4 separate regions of the Homo sapiens genome follow, and all the other regions are linked to region 4. Evidence: promoter capture Hi-C in 16 types of primary human blood cells and fetal thymus (Javierre and others, 2016). All regions are on one chromosome and are shown on one strand. The core of a region is centred on a gene start or on the middle of the fragment in contact, and the rest is flanking DNA. Distances in the headings are between cores, read along the strand shown.

What was found. The method cuts DNA at HindIII sites, captures the fragments that hold promoters and counts their contacts. A CHiCAGO score of 5 or more calls a contact.
Region 1: a fragment that was not itself captured here is called in contact with the fragment with the promoter of GPR160 in region 4 in 1 of 17 cell types (neutrophils); the score reaches 8.6 in neutrophils.
Region 2: a contact is called between a fragment that was not itself captured here and the fragment with the promoter of GPR160 in region 4, in 1 of 17 cell types (naive B cells). The highest score is 5.5, in naive B cells.
Region 3: a fragment that was not itself captured here is called in contact with the fragment with the promoter of GPR160 in region 4 in 1 of 17 cell types (neutrophils); the score reaches 8.9 in neutrophils.

Annotation. Positions count from the first base shown.
Region 1 is chr3:170,384,756-170,387,752 of GRCh38, forward strand. SKIL (SKI like proto-oncogene) reads left to right here. Exons shown (of 7, transcript NM_005414.5): 4 at 1-10. Among named protein-coding and RNA genes, the nearest start is that of SKIL, 29 kb to the left of the region's middle. The HindIII fragment of the contact is 1,974 bases long and covers 731-2,704 here.
Region 2 is chr3:169,745,189-169,748,033 of GRCh38, forward strand. No RefSeq gene overlaps it. Among named protein-coding and RNA genes, the nearest start is that of ACTRT3, 23 kb to the right of the region's middle. The HindIII fragment of the contact is 358 bases long and covers 1,230-1,587 here.
Region 3 is chr3:170,367,593-170,370,849 of GRCh38, forward strand. The region is part of intron 2 of SKIL (SKI like proto-oncogene); the gene reads left to right. Among named protein-coding and RNA genes, the nearest start is that of SKIL, 12 kb to the left of the region's middle. The HindIII fragment of the contact is 2,693 bases long and covers 439-3,131 here.
Region 4 is chr3:170,036,361-170,039,308 of GRCh38, forward strand. GPR160 (G protein-coupled receptor 160) reads left to right here and starts at 1,635. Exons shown (of 4, transcript NM_014373.3): 1 at 1,635-1,855; 2 at 2,555-2,683. RefSeq lists silencers at 1,610-2,089, 2,400-2,449, 2,610-2,659 and an enhancer at 2,515-2,948. The HindIII fragment of the contact is 12,490 bases long and covers 1-2,948 here.

The DNA.
Region 1 (2,997 bases), core at 468-2,967, 350 kb after region 4:
AGCCGTTTAGGTAAGTATTCAGAGATTATCTTTCTAAAATTAAATATCTAATGAACACATTTATTGAGCATTTTCAAACAGGCTTTTTGTTTGAGCTAAATTTTCAGATAATTGGAGCTTTTACCTTTAAAAATGCTACCCTTCAAAACTCTGGGTGATTTATTTTAATCTCAGTTGCTATACTTTTCTAGCGTGGTGATAGCTCAGGAGACTGAGATAGATACAGGCTACCTGGCCTCAGACTGCAAGTTATTTTTGTCCGAATTTTTTTCCTTTCCTACCTTTTATTTGCTGTCAGTCTTCAGGAGATCCTTGTTTTTCTTTCCTCCTTTTTTTTTCTTTTTTTGTGACAGAGTCTTTATCGCCTAGGCTGAAGTGCAGTGGTGAGATTGCGGTCACTGCAGCCTCAACCTTTGGGCTCAAGTGATCCTCCCACCTCACCCTCCCTAGTAGCTGGGACCAGAGGCGCACACCACTGTGCCTGGCTAATTAAAAAAAAAAATTTTTTTTTTTTTTTTTGTAGAGATGGTCTTGGTATGTTGCTCAAGCTGGTCTCGAACTCCTGGGCTCAAGTGATCCTCCTGCCTTGGCCTCTCAAAGTGTTGGGATTACAGTTGTGAGCCACCGCACCCAACCTTTATTTTTCTTTCTGATTTGCCATGAACTGAGACACCATTTAATAATAAGAAGTATTATGTAAGTAAGAGTAGTTAGGTATAGAACTCAAGGAAGCTTAGTTATGGAATAAAGCAAGGATTGAAAGCTCTGGGGGCCAGGCATATAGCATAAATGTGGAATATTGACTGGTCATTTAAAAGAAAAATAGCTGGTTACTTACCGTGCCTTTTAAAATACTGTGGATTAAATGAGACATGTCTGCAGATATTGCCTGTGTTACCATCCATATAGCAGCACAGCTTTGCTTAGTGATTAGGCAGTGTGACAGTTACTTTAGCTGCATTGGAACAGTTGGAGGGTCCTCTATTTATTTAAGTTTTTATAGAGAATTGAGATTCTTGGGGGTTTTCTTTTCTTTCTTTCTTTCTTTTTTTTCTTTTTTTTTTTTGAGGAGTTTCACTCTTGTTGCCCAGGCTGGAGTAAAATGGTGAGATCTCAGCTCACCGCAACCTCCACCTCCCAGATTCTCCTGCCTCAGCCTCCTGAGTAGCTGAGATTACAGGCATGCACCACCACACCCCGCTAATTTTGTATTTTTAGTAGAGACGGGTTTTCTCCATGTTGGTCAGGCTGGTCTTGAACTCCTGACCTCAGGTGATCCGCCTGCCTCGGCCTCCCAACCAAAGTGCTGGGATTCCAGGCGTGAGCCACCACGCCTGGCTGATTCTTGGGTGGGGGTTTTCTGGTTTTTTTGTTTGTTTGTTTGTTTGTTTGGAGACAGAGTTTCGTATTTGTTGCCCAGGCTAGAGTGCAACGGTGTGATCTCGGCTCACTGCAATCTCCGCCTCCCAGGTTCAAGTGATTCTCCTGCCTCAGCCTCCTGAGCAGCTGGGATTATAGGCATGCACCACCACGCCCGGCTAATTTTGTATTTTTAGTAGACACGGGGTTTTTCCATGTTGGTCAGTCTGGTCTCGAACTCCTGACCTCAGGTGATCCGCCTGCCTCGGCCTCCCAAAGTGCTGGGATTACAGGCGTGAGCCATCGCGCCCGGCCAGGGGTTTTCTATACATTTATTTTGAGGGTTTTTTGTTTCGTTTTTCTTTTTTAGAGACAGAGTCTCACTCTGTTGCTCTAGGCTGGTGGAGTACAGTGATGCATTCATAGCTCACCGCAGCTTCAAATTGCTGGGCTCATAGTCCTTGCACCTCAGCCTCCCTAGTAGCTAGGACTACAGGCATGTGCCACTGCGCCTGCCTCATTTTTTCATTTTTTTTGTAGAGACAGGGTCTCACTGTATTGCCCAGGCTGGCATTAAGCTCTTAGCCTCAAGTGATCCTCCTGCCTTGGCCTCCTAAAGCATTGGGATTACAGATGTGAGCCACCATGCCTGGCCAATTTTGAGATTTTTAAAACTCAGTTTTCTTCAGATTTAAATATGGTAAACAAAAATTAGTAATGACTATTATGCCATATTTACATTGTATTTTATTTCTTAAATTAATTCTAATGACTTCTAAAAAATTATTGAGATAATTTATATACCATAAAATTTACCCTTTTAAAGCCTACAATTCAGTGGTTTTTAATACATTCACAAAGTTGTGCAACCATCACAGCTAATTTAGTTCCATAATGTTTTCTTTTCTTTCTTTTTTTTTAAGATGGAGTTTCACTCTTGTCGCCCAGGCTAGAGTGCAGTGGGGTGATTTCGGCTCACTGCAAGCTCTGCCTCCCGGGTTCAAGCGATTCTCCTGCCTCAGCCTCCTGAGTAGCTGGGATTACAGGCGTGTGTCACCACGCCTGGCTAATTTTTTTGTATTATTAGTAAGAGACAGGGTTTTCGCCATGTTAGTCAGGCTGATCTTGAACTCCTGACCTTAGGTGATCCACCCGCCTCGGCCCATAATGTTTTCATCACTCCAAAAATTAACCCTATAATCCATTAGGAGTCACTCCCTGATTCTCCCTTTCTCGAAGCCTCTGGCAACCACTAATCTATTTTCTATCTTTATGGATTTGCTTATTCTGGACATTTCATATAAAAGGAATTGTACAATATGTGGCTTTTCATGTCTGGTCAAGAAGCTTATGCTTCTTTCATGAAAGATAATGTTTTCACAGTCCATGTTGTTGCATGTACCAGTACTTCTTTTTATGGCCTGATAAGATTCCATTATGTGAATATACCACATTTTTTTTATTCCTTCGTCAGTCGGACATTTGCATTGGGTCTACTTTTTGGCAATTAAGAATAATGCTGCTATAGGCCGGGCGCGGTGGCTCACGCCTGTAATCCCAGCACTTTGGGAGGCCGAGGCGGGCGGATCACGAGGTCAGGAGATCGAGACCATCCCGGCTAAAACGGTGAAACCCCGT
Region 2 (2,845 bases), core at 159-2,658, 290 kb before region 4:
ATAAAAATCACTGGAAACACTCATGGCAAAGTCAGTTTTTTTTTGTTTTGTTTTGTTTTTTTTTTTTTGAGACGGAGTCTCGCTGTCGCCCAGGTGGGACTGCGGACTGCAGTGGCGCAATCTCGGCTCACTGCAAGCTCCGCTTCCCGGGTTCACGCCATTCTCCTGCCTCAGCCTCCCGAGTAGCTGGGACTACAGGCGCCCGCCACCGCGCCCGGATAATTTTTTTTGTATTTTTAGTAGAGACGGGGTTTCACCTTGTTAGCCAGGATGGTCTCGATCTCCTGACCTCATGATCCACCCGCCTCGGCCTCCCAAAGTGCTGGGATTACAGGCGTGAGCCACCGCGCCCGGCCCAAAGTCAGTTTTTAACTTTACATTTAGCTATTAATATTCTTTTGAAAAATAGAGTAGCTACCACTTAGCCTTCTTTAGGCCTCTAGTAGTACATACTTAAGCTCAAATTTACAGAAAGCCCCTTTAGGGCAAAATGCTACCATAAAAGCAATGCATCTGAGTCAGAGAACCCAGCCATGTTCAACTTCTCCCACAACCTCTCCCACTAGGAAAGGGAGACAGAGCTCTGAGCCTCAGATCAATCAATGTGAGGAATGACCTGTCTTTATTCTGGTGGCTGGTGTTGAGCTGGAGGAAATGATTTGGTGGCCGAAATTCAGTTGTTTTTGCACATAAAAAAGTATTTTCCCCTCTAAAAAATATTTATTTAACTCTGTCAACCACCACACCAAGCACCACACCACGTCCTGTAACAGCTATCTTGTATTCGAATGACGCGAATGTGAAGCGTAATGTGTGGATTGTGAGGAACAAGCCCCCACCATGAATGTCTGCGAAGAAAAGGGAAAAAGACCTTTAATCTTTGCAGTGTATTAGGCCAAGTATGAAAGCTGACTACACACTATGCACTATGGAGGATGTGTCTGTGTGTATATCTGTGTGTGTGTCAAGGGGCTGATGTTTTTAAAATTGGTAACTGATTTTGCTATATTGACAGCTCCGGTTCCAACCATTATGATTTATTCTGCTGGCTTCATTAAGATATTGTCATCATAACTAAGGCTGGTATAGCATTTACTGTTCATAAAATGCTCTCATGCATGTCAAAATTTGCTCGTTTAACATATGTGTACTAAATACCAACCCTGTGCGAGGTTCTCGCAAGCTTCAGGAATACAAAGCTAAAAGACAAGGTATCCCATCTTTCAAAAAGCTTCACAGTCTGGGGAGGTGAAAGGGAAGCAAACCTCACAGCTGGATTTTAAAACAATGTTAGATGTCCCATGATAGAAGAATGAAGGGGCGCTAAGTAAAATGAAACACAGTAGCTCTGTTTCTGCTTGGAGGGACACAGCCAGGATCCAGGAAGGTGTAAGTAATCGAAAACTAAATAGCACATGATCTAGCAGAGAAGGGACATTTTCTGAAAACCACAGATCATTATGGGATACCACAGGCTCACTGAGTATCAGCAGGTGAGTCTGGTGAGGAAGTGTCAGGCAGAGGTGTCCTGGGCATATATGCCTAGTGTCACATAGGGAAGGTAAAAAATAAAGGTGATAAAAGGAAAGCTTACAAGCAGAGAAGGAGCAGAGTGTCCGCAATCCCCTGAACTCTCATTATCCCACAGTTTCGGCCCTGTGTAGATGGGCCACATGTCCATGGCTAACAGTGCAGTAGAAAGGGACCCTGCCCTACAATCCTGTAGGGAACAGGGAACATCTATGCACTTGGATGTCCCGTGGTCACAGAAGTAGCTTGATAGAAAGGGAGGGTCGGGTCTCTGCAGCCCAGAAACTGGCATCCACCTGTTCTAGTGGGCTAACTCTAACTTGCTGAGCCAACTTTCTACTCATCTACCAAAAACGGGAACATGAGCCTCCAGTACATCCAGATCTATTGCTTATAAGAGGAATGCAGAACAGGAACTGAATGAAGTCTCTTGTCCGCCGCAGCAAGGAGGTGATTCGAAACCACAGGTGTCAAGGAACAACCAACTGTTCTTGGGCAGAGAAGTAATAGGATATGATTTCTATTTTAAAGAGGTCACCAGCATTGTACAAGATAGGTGAAAGATAGGAGACCAGCAGGGAGCTATTGCAGAAGGTCAGACTAGGGGGTCTGACCCAGAGCAAAGAAGGTGGGGAGGGGCAGTCAGACTGGAGAGATGCCACACAGGGATGAAATGGACAGGACTTCAAGACTGCTTAGATGATGGGGATAGGGGTAAAAGAAGGAAAGAACAGAGTCTCATATTACCTGGTGTCTGACGGAGTGACAAGATGGACTGGGGAAGACAGAGTAAGGAGGGAGAGAAAAGTCAATAAGGCTACTTTTTTCAACTTATTATTTTGAAATAACTATAGATTCATAGGAAGTTGGAAACATAGTACAGAGAAGTTCCATGTACCCTTCACTTCATCTCCCCTAAAGGGGACATCTTACATAATTATAGCACAATATCAAAAGGAGACAATTGACACTGGTACAACACATGTGTAGTTGTCATTTGATCACACCAGTCAATTTACGTAACCACGAATTCAATTAAGATAAAAAACTATTTCATCACCACGAACATCTCCCTCATGCTACCCCTTCACAGTTACAGCCCCCTTCCCTCCACCACCCCTATTCCCTGGCAGCCACTAAGCTATTCTCCATCTCTACAATGTTGTTATCTTGAAGATGTCATGTAAATTGAATCATCCAGTATGTGACCTTGTGTGATTGGTTTGTTTCACCTAGCATAATGCTGGAAGTGCACCCAAGCTGTTGCATGTATCAATAGTTTGTTTTTTTATTGCTCAGTGATATTCCATGGTAT
Region 3 (3,257 bases), core at 535-3,034, 330 kb after region 4:
AGTAGCTGGGATTACAGGTGCCTGCCACCACACCCAGCTAATTTTTTGTATTTTTAGTAGAGATGGGGGTTTCACTATGTTGGCCAGGCTGGTCTCGAACTCCTGATCTCAGGCAATCCACCAGCCTCAGTCTCCCAAAGTGCTGGGATTACAGGCGTGAGCCACCGTGCCTGGCTAAAATTTAAACTTTTAACATTTAGACTGGACTACTCTTAGGTAAGTAAAATATTTTAGTTTTTAATCTACTTAGGGGGGAAAAATCTCTATAGATTACTTATGATACAAACAGATGACCTAAAGATAGCAACTTAAAAAATTTTTTTTCCCTGAAAGCGTATTAGCCGTTTGAGAGTTTAATTTTGCATTTTCGTTTCACTTCTTCATTTCTGTAGAGATCATTGGAGTAATAATAGTACAAAATATTTCTCCCCTCTTGCAAGCTTTTAATTATACTTGTATTAGGCAGCGTATTTGTCAGTATAAACCTAATTGAGATAAGGAACAGTAGAATGGGCAACTACAAAGAGTTGTGTTGGGACAGAATGTGATCTAGTAATAATTGTGGTGGATTTGATGGTGATTTGCTACCCCAGTGATACAGATTATATTTTGCAATTAGCAAAATTTTTGATCAAGTGGGGATAAGTTGAGAGTCAGATGAAGTATTTGTGCTCATATGAGGGACCATTATGAATACTTTTGTCTAACTTTCTAAAATTAGTAACTGTTCCCACTAGTTTACAGAGTATTTTTTCTATTTTTTTGGAACCGAGTTCAAAGCCTGGCATGTCAAAGGCACTCAATTAAATTTTTCTTTTTTTAACTGAATAGATTTTTGAAAAATAACACTAAACTATATTTTAGAATATTTGGATTTTCTTTTAAAGATGGCTTAACCTTTAAACAGATACAATTTGCACATAAACTGTTAATATAATTCATCAAACAAGAGAATGAGCATTTTGGAAGTTAAGAGCCTTTACTGCAGAAATGTAGGATGGTATTTCAAACTACTATTGAAATATTATGTATTTGAGGAGTCCTCCTTTCCTCATTTTCTTATCTAGAATTATATTTCTGAGACAAACAAGATAACTGAATGTTGGGTTCAAATGTATCTCATTTATAGTTTTTTTTACACAGTAATTACAGTAGTTGGATATTTGCTTACTAAAATGAAGTGTGCAAGAAGAAAGTGTGAAACAGTTTTTTTATTATAGAAGCATTTTCTGAATTATTTCATTATTTTCGACTTGTTACCCAAAAAGATACATTGATTGGAGATAGTGCCCATTCCATTTATTCGGTTGATACCACATTGGGGTTTTGAATGATGGAGACCAATACAGACCTGCTTAGATTGGATAAGGTTTTGTTTAGTGCCTTTCTCATTTTTTACAAAACGACTTTTATAATAACTTCAGAGTAATCAAGTTTTTGGAGCTCATTCTGTTAATAACAGGATATGTGGACCCTCCCTATCCCTGGCATTTTTTTTTTTTTTTTTTTTTTTTGAAATCTGTAGAGTGGCTTTGCAAATAGTGCCCCCTGTGGTTTAGGAAATAGAGCCTCTTTATTTTTATTATTAAAAAATAGAATTGTTAGCATATGATTTTTGAAAGTTAGAAATTTATCCTTTTTGTTTGAGAAATGGGAAAAAACTTAGAAACTTTAAAGAAGAAAAACAAAAAAGAGATGGCCGTGTTTTCAGAGTAGGCCTGGATCATCATAGTCAGCCAGTAGTTTTCTCGTAGCAGTGCATATGTTATCAATTATGCCACTGGGAAACCAAAGAAGTAATCAAGAATTGGGCTAATTTTTTTTTTGATAAGGAGTTTTGCTCTTGTAGCTCAGGCTGGAGTGCAATAAGGCAATCTCGGCTCACTGCAACCTCCGCCTCCTGGGTTCAAGTGATTCTCATGCCTCAGCCTCCCTAGTAGCTGGAATTACAGTCATGTGCCACCATAGCTGGCTAATTTTTGTATTTTTTGTAGAGATGTGGTTTCACCATATTGGTCAGGCTGATCTCGAACTCCGTACCTCAGGTGATCTGCCTGTCTCAGCCTCCCAAAGTGCTGGGATTACAGGCGTGAGCCACCGCACCCAGCGAATTGGGCTAATTTTAATCCCTTTAGAATTCTGGGAGTGGAAAGTGATTGTCGAGCTAGAATTCAGTTTGTTCCTAGTAAAGGGGTAGAACTTGTTTGAGAATAGCTTTGGTAATAGCTTGAATCTGTATTTTGTTCACATATAGAATTTTATTCTACTGGGATTCATATTACATAAAATAAGGATTTTATTAGACTCTAGAAAGCAAAAGAATATATAAACAATGCATCTTGTTGTAAGATGTGATTTGCTTCCGGCTGCGCGCGGTGGCTCACGCCTGTAGTCCCAGCACTTTTGGGAGGCTGAGACGGGCGGATCATGAGGTCAGGAGATCGAGACCATCCTGGCTAACATGGTGAAACCCCGTCTCTACTAAAAATACAAAAAATTAGCCGGGCGCGGTGGCAGGCGCCTGTAGTCCCAGCTACTCGGGAGGCTGAGGCAGGAGAATGGCGTAAACCCGGGAGGCGGAGCTTGCAGTGAGCCGAGATCGCGCCACTGCACTCCAGCCTGGGAGACAGAGTGAGACTCCGTCTCAAAAAAATAAAATAAAATAAAATGTGGTTTGCTTCAATCACTAACTCATTATATTAGGCAGAAAGAATGAATAGGAAAGATATAAAATTAGTTTGAGTCCTTTTGATTTCATGACTTCTAGACTTAAGAGTGGATCATAGAAATATGTAATATTTCTATATATACATATATATGTATATATACAGAGAGAGAGAGAGAGAGCCCCCCCCCCCCCCCCGAGCAGGAGTTCATCTTATAGTCTTACAGTCTTCTTATATCTTACAGTCTTCGAATCTAGAATGTGGTAGATGCCTAATAAAGGTTTGGATAACAGTGAAGTCTAAGTGGCCCTATAAAGTTACCAGTGATTCTCGAAGAGGGAAACAGGTTTAGTTTTAAAACAAACCAGCATTTCGTTTTTATTTGTGATGTTGAATTTATTCTGAGATTTCAAATGGCATTAAAAGTACATATTTTGCATTTTTTATGGGAACAAGGAATTAAAAAGCTTAAGAAACTTACTAAAAGTTTGGGTAACATAGTTTGACCCTGTCTTTACAAAAGATTGAAAAAAACAATTAGCTGGGCTTGGTGGGGCATGCCTGTAGTCCCAACTACTTGTGGGGCTGAGA
Region 4 (2,948 bases), core at 385-2,884:
GACTGGTTCATTAACCCTTTCTCCTCTTCTTCGTCTTGATGTTAAATATTACTTTGTTGTGGAATGTTTAATCTACAACATTCGTATAGTGATTAAGTATACTAGTATGTATGGTTTGCAATATTTACTGACTTATGGAGTGGCTTGAACCTATGTGCTCTGACTACAGAGTGAATGGGAAGGACTAAGGAGAATTGCCTCCTTGGGAACTCCATGTAGCTCCTGGATTTTGTGATTGAAATAGCATTTAAAAAAAAAAAAAGACTGACATTGTGGAGAGATACAAACGTGTATGGACATGGTCATCTTTAATCTCTAACTGCTATGACACTCAGAGAGGTTGAGAGGCTCAGGACACTCCCCTTGTTCAAGGCTCTGCGTGAAGAGGAGAAGGAAGAAATTGTGCAATATTTTATTTTATTTTATTTGTTTCAGATGAAGTCTGTCTCTGTTGCCCAGGCTGGAGTGTAATGGCGTGATCTTGGTTCACTGCAACCTCTGCCTCCTGGGTTCAAGTCATTCTCCTGCCTCAGCCTCCCAAGTAGCTGGGACTACAGGCATGTGCCATTACGCCCAACTAATTTTTGTATTTTTAGTAGAGGCAGGGTTTCACCATGTTGGCCAGGCTGGTCTTGAACTCGTGACCTCAAGTGATCCACCCGCCTCGGCCTCCCAAAGTGCTGGGATTACAGGCTTGAGCCACTGCGCTGGCCTAATTGTTCGATATTTTAAATGTTTAAATGACCGGCAAGTCGTAGGTGCTCAACAAATATTTGTTGAATGACAACAAATTAGCACTGTTGACACAAAAAAGGCAATGCAATATATGGGCTATTTAATATTTGCAGATTTTTATTTAAAAATCTGAATTCACAGTACACTGCAGGCGGTTGCTTAGAAGCATACAAGTTTCAAGAAGTTCTGTCACCCTGTGTATACTCTTTTTTTTTTTTTTTTTTTTTTTTTTTTTTTTTTTTGATACGGAGTCTTGCTGTTGCTGCCCAGGCTGGAGTGCAGTGGTGCGGTCTTAGCTCACTGCAACCTCCGCCTCCTGGGTTCAAGCGATTCTCGTGCCTCAGCTTCCCAAATAGCTGGGATTACAGGTGCGTGCCACCAAGCCCGGCTAATTTTTGTATTTTTAGTAGACATGGGGACCAACGTGGACCATGTTGGCCAGGCTGGTCTCAAACTCCTGACCTCAAGTGATCCGCCCACCTTGACCTCCCAAAGTGCTAGGATTACAGGCATGAGCCACCGCCTGGCCACCCTGTGTAAACTCTTATCTGGAGACAACTGCCAAGTTTACATTTGCAGAGGTAAGGGAAGGAGAGGCCCTGACCCAGTGGCCCCCGCTCGCCCGCCTGCTGGGGAGATGGGGAGCTCCTAGGACAGGGGCCGGGTCCTCAAGATGTGGCATGAGGAAGGGGGTCTCACTGAGCCCCCAAGCGGCTCCCGCACTGCGCACCCCTGGCTGCGTCCCTCTGCCAGCCTCAACTCAGCCCTCTCCTAGCCGGCGGGGGGTGACAGTCTCTGTGATATCTTTCCGTCCCGCCGGCAGGCGGCGCCCTCCGGCCCTTGTTTCGTTGGGCCCGGACGGGACGTGCGCGCTCAAAGGTTGCCCGTCTCTGACGCCCGCATTTCCTGGTCTGGAGCCGGCTGAGCCACAGCAGGGTCGCCGCGGGGTCCCGGGGCCGTGCTCCCCTGCCCCTCCCGGGAGCGCGCGGGGCGGGGCGGGGCGGGGCGGGACCAGGCGGGCGAGCTGGGCCCTCGCCCCTCCCTCGGGCGGTCACCTGGGCACGGGCGCTGCAGGTGTCGGGGCCTCAACCTTGCGGAGCCGACAGCCATCGATCCTCGGGTGAGTGCGGGCGCAGGTGGAGGGCGCCCGGCGCTCTCGCCACCGGCGTCCCAGCCTCGGGGCGGCGAACGGTCCCCGCGCCGCTCCCAGCCTCCCTGGCCGGGCGTTCAGCGCGCCTGGGAGGGGAAGGAATTTCCTTTGCAGGAACTCAGGGGCTGGGGGTTCTCTGCTACTTAAGAGATCCAGGAGTGGAGCCCGGACGCCCGAGCCTTCCTGCTTCGGGATGGGGATTACCGCGGAGCCTTAGCAACTGGGGTCTGTCGTGGGTTTGAGGGCAGGGGGTCTGGGGAATGGGCGTGTCCCGCACCCAGAGACTCGCCACCCTCTCTCCAGGGGAGATGCTTTTTAAACATGACAAACCCAGCAAGGTTATAGAAATGGGTGTATGCAACTCTTCGCTCTTTCCTGGCGCCCAGAGGTGAATAGTCTCACACACACGCGCGCGCGCGCGCGTGCGTGCATTCATTGGGGCCGACTTTGCCTCCCCTCCCCTGGCCTCGAGCGTTGGGGACGGCGCCCCCGCCCGCGCCCGCCACTGGGATTAAGCCCCAGGGCCTTGCCCGGCTATTTGTTTTCCGAGGCCGTTGCGTCCGGGTAGGTTCCTGGATGACCATCCTGGCTGGCTCAAAATTCCCTCTAGATTACCTGCGACCACCCCCAGGAACCCGGAGACTGAAACTCCTTTTCTCACCTGCGCAGGTGGCCTCGAGGTGGTGGCAGGGCCGCCCCCTGCAGTCCGGAGACGAACGCACGGACCGGGCCTCCGGAGGCAGGTTCGGCTGGAAGGAACCGCTCTCGCTTCGTCCTACACTTGCGCAAATGTCTCCGGTAAGGGGAAGTGTCGCTTAAATCCCAGAGATAACCCCCACCGAGAAGCATCACAAAAGACATGAACGAGTGTTTAGCTCTCAGGATTGTTATTGCTTCGAGTGAAATGGTTTCTTGTGTGCTTTTGTGCATTTATATATAAATATAAACATATATGTATACATTTGACAAGCTCTAAGACCGGCACTTGTGATATCTCCAGAATAGAGTTATTATAGTTATTTGGAAATTGTCAGTGAGGATCAGCTTGGTTGCTATGCGAATT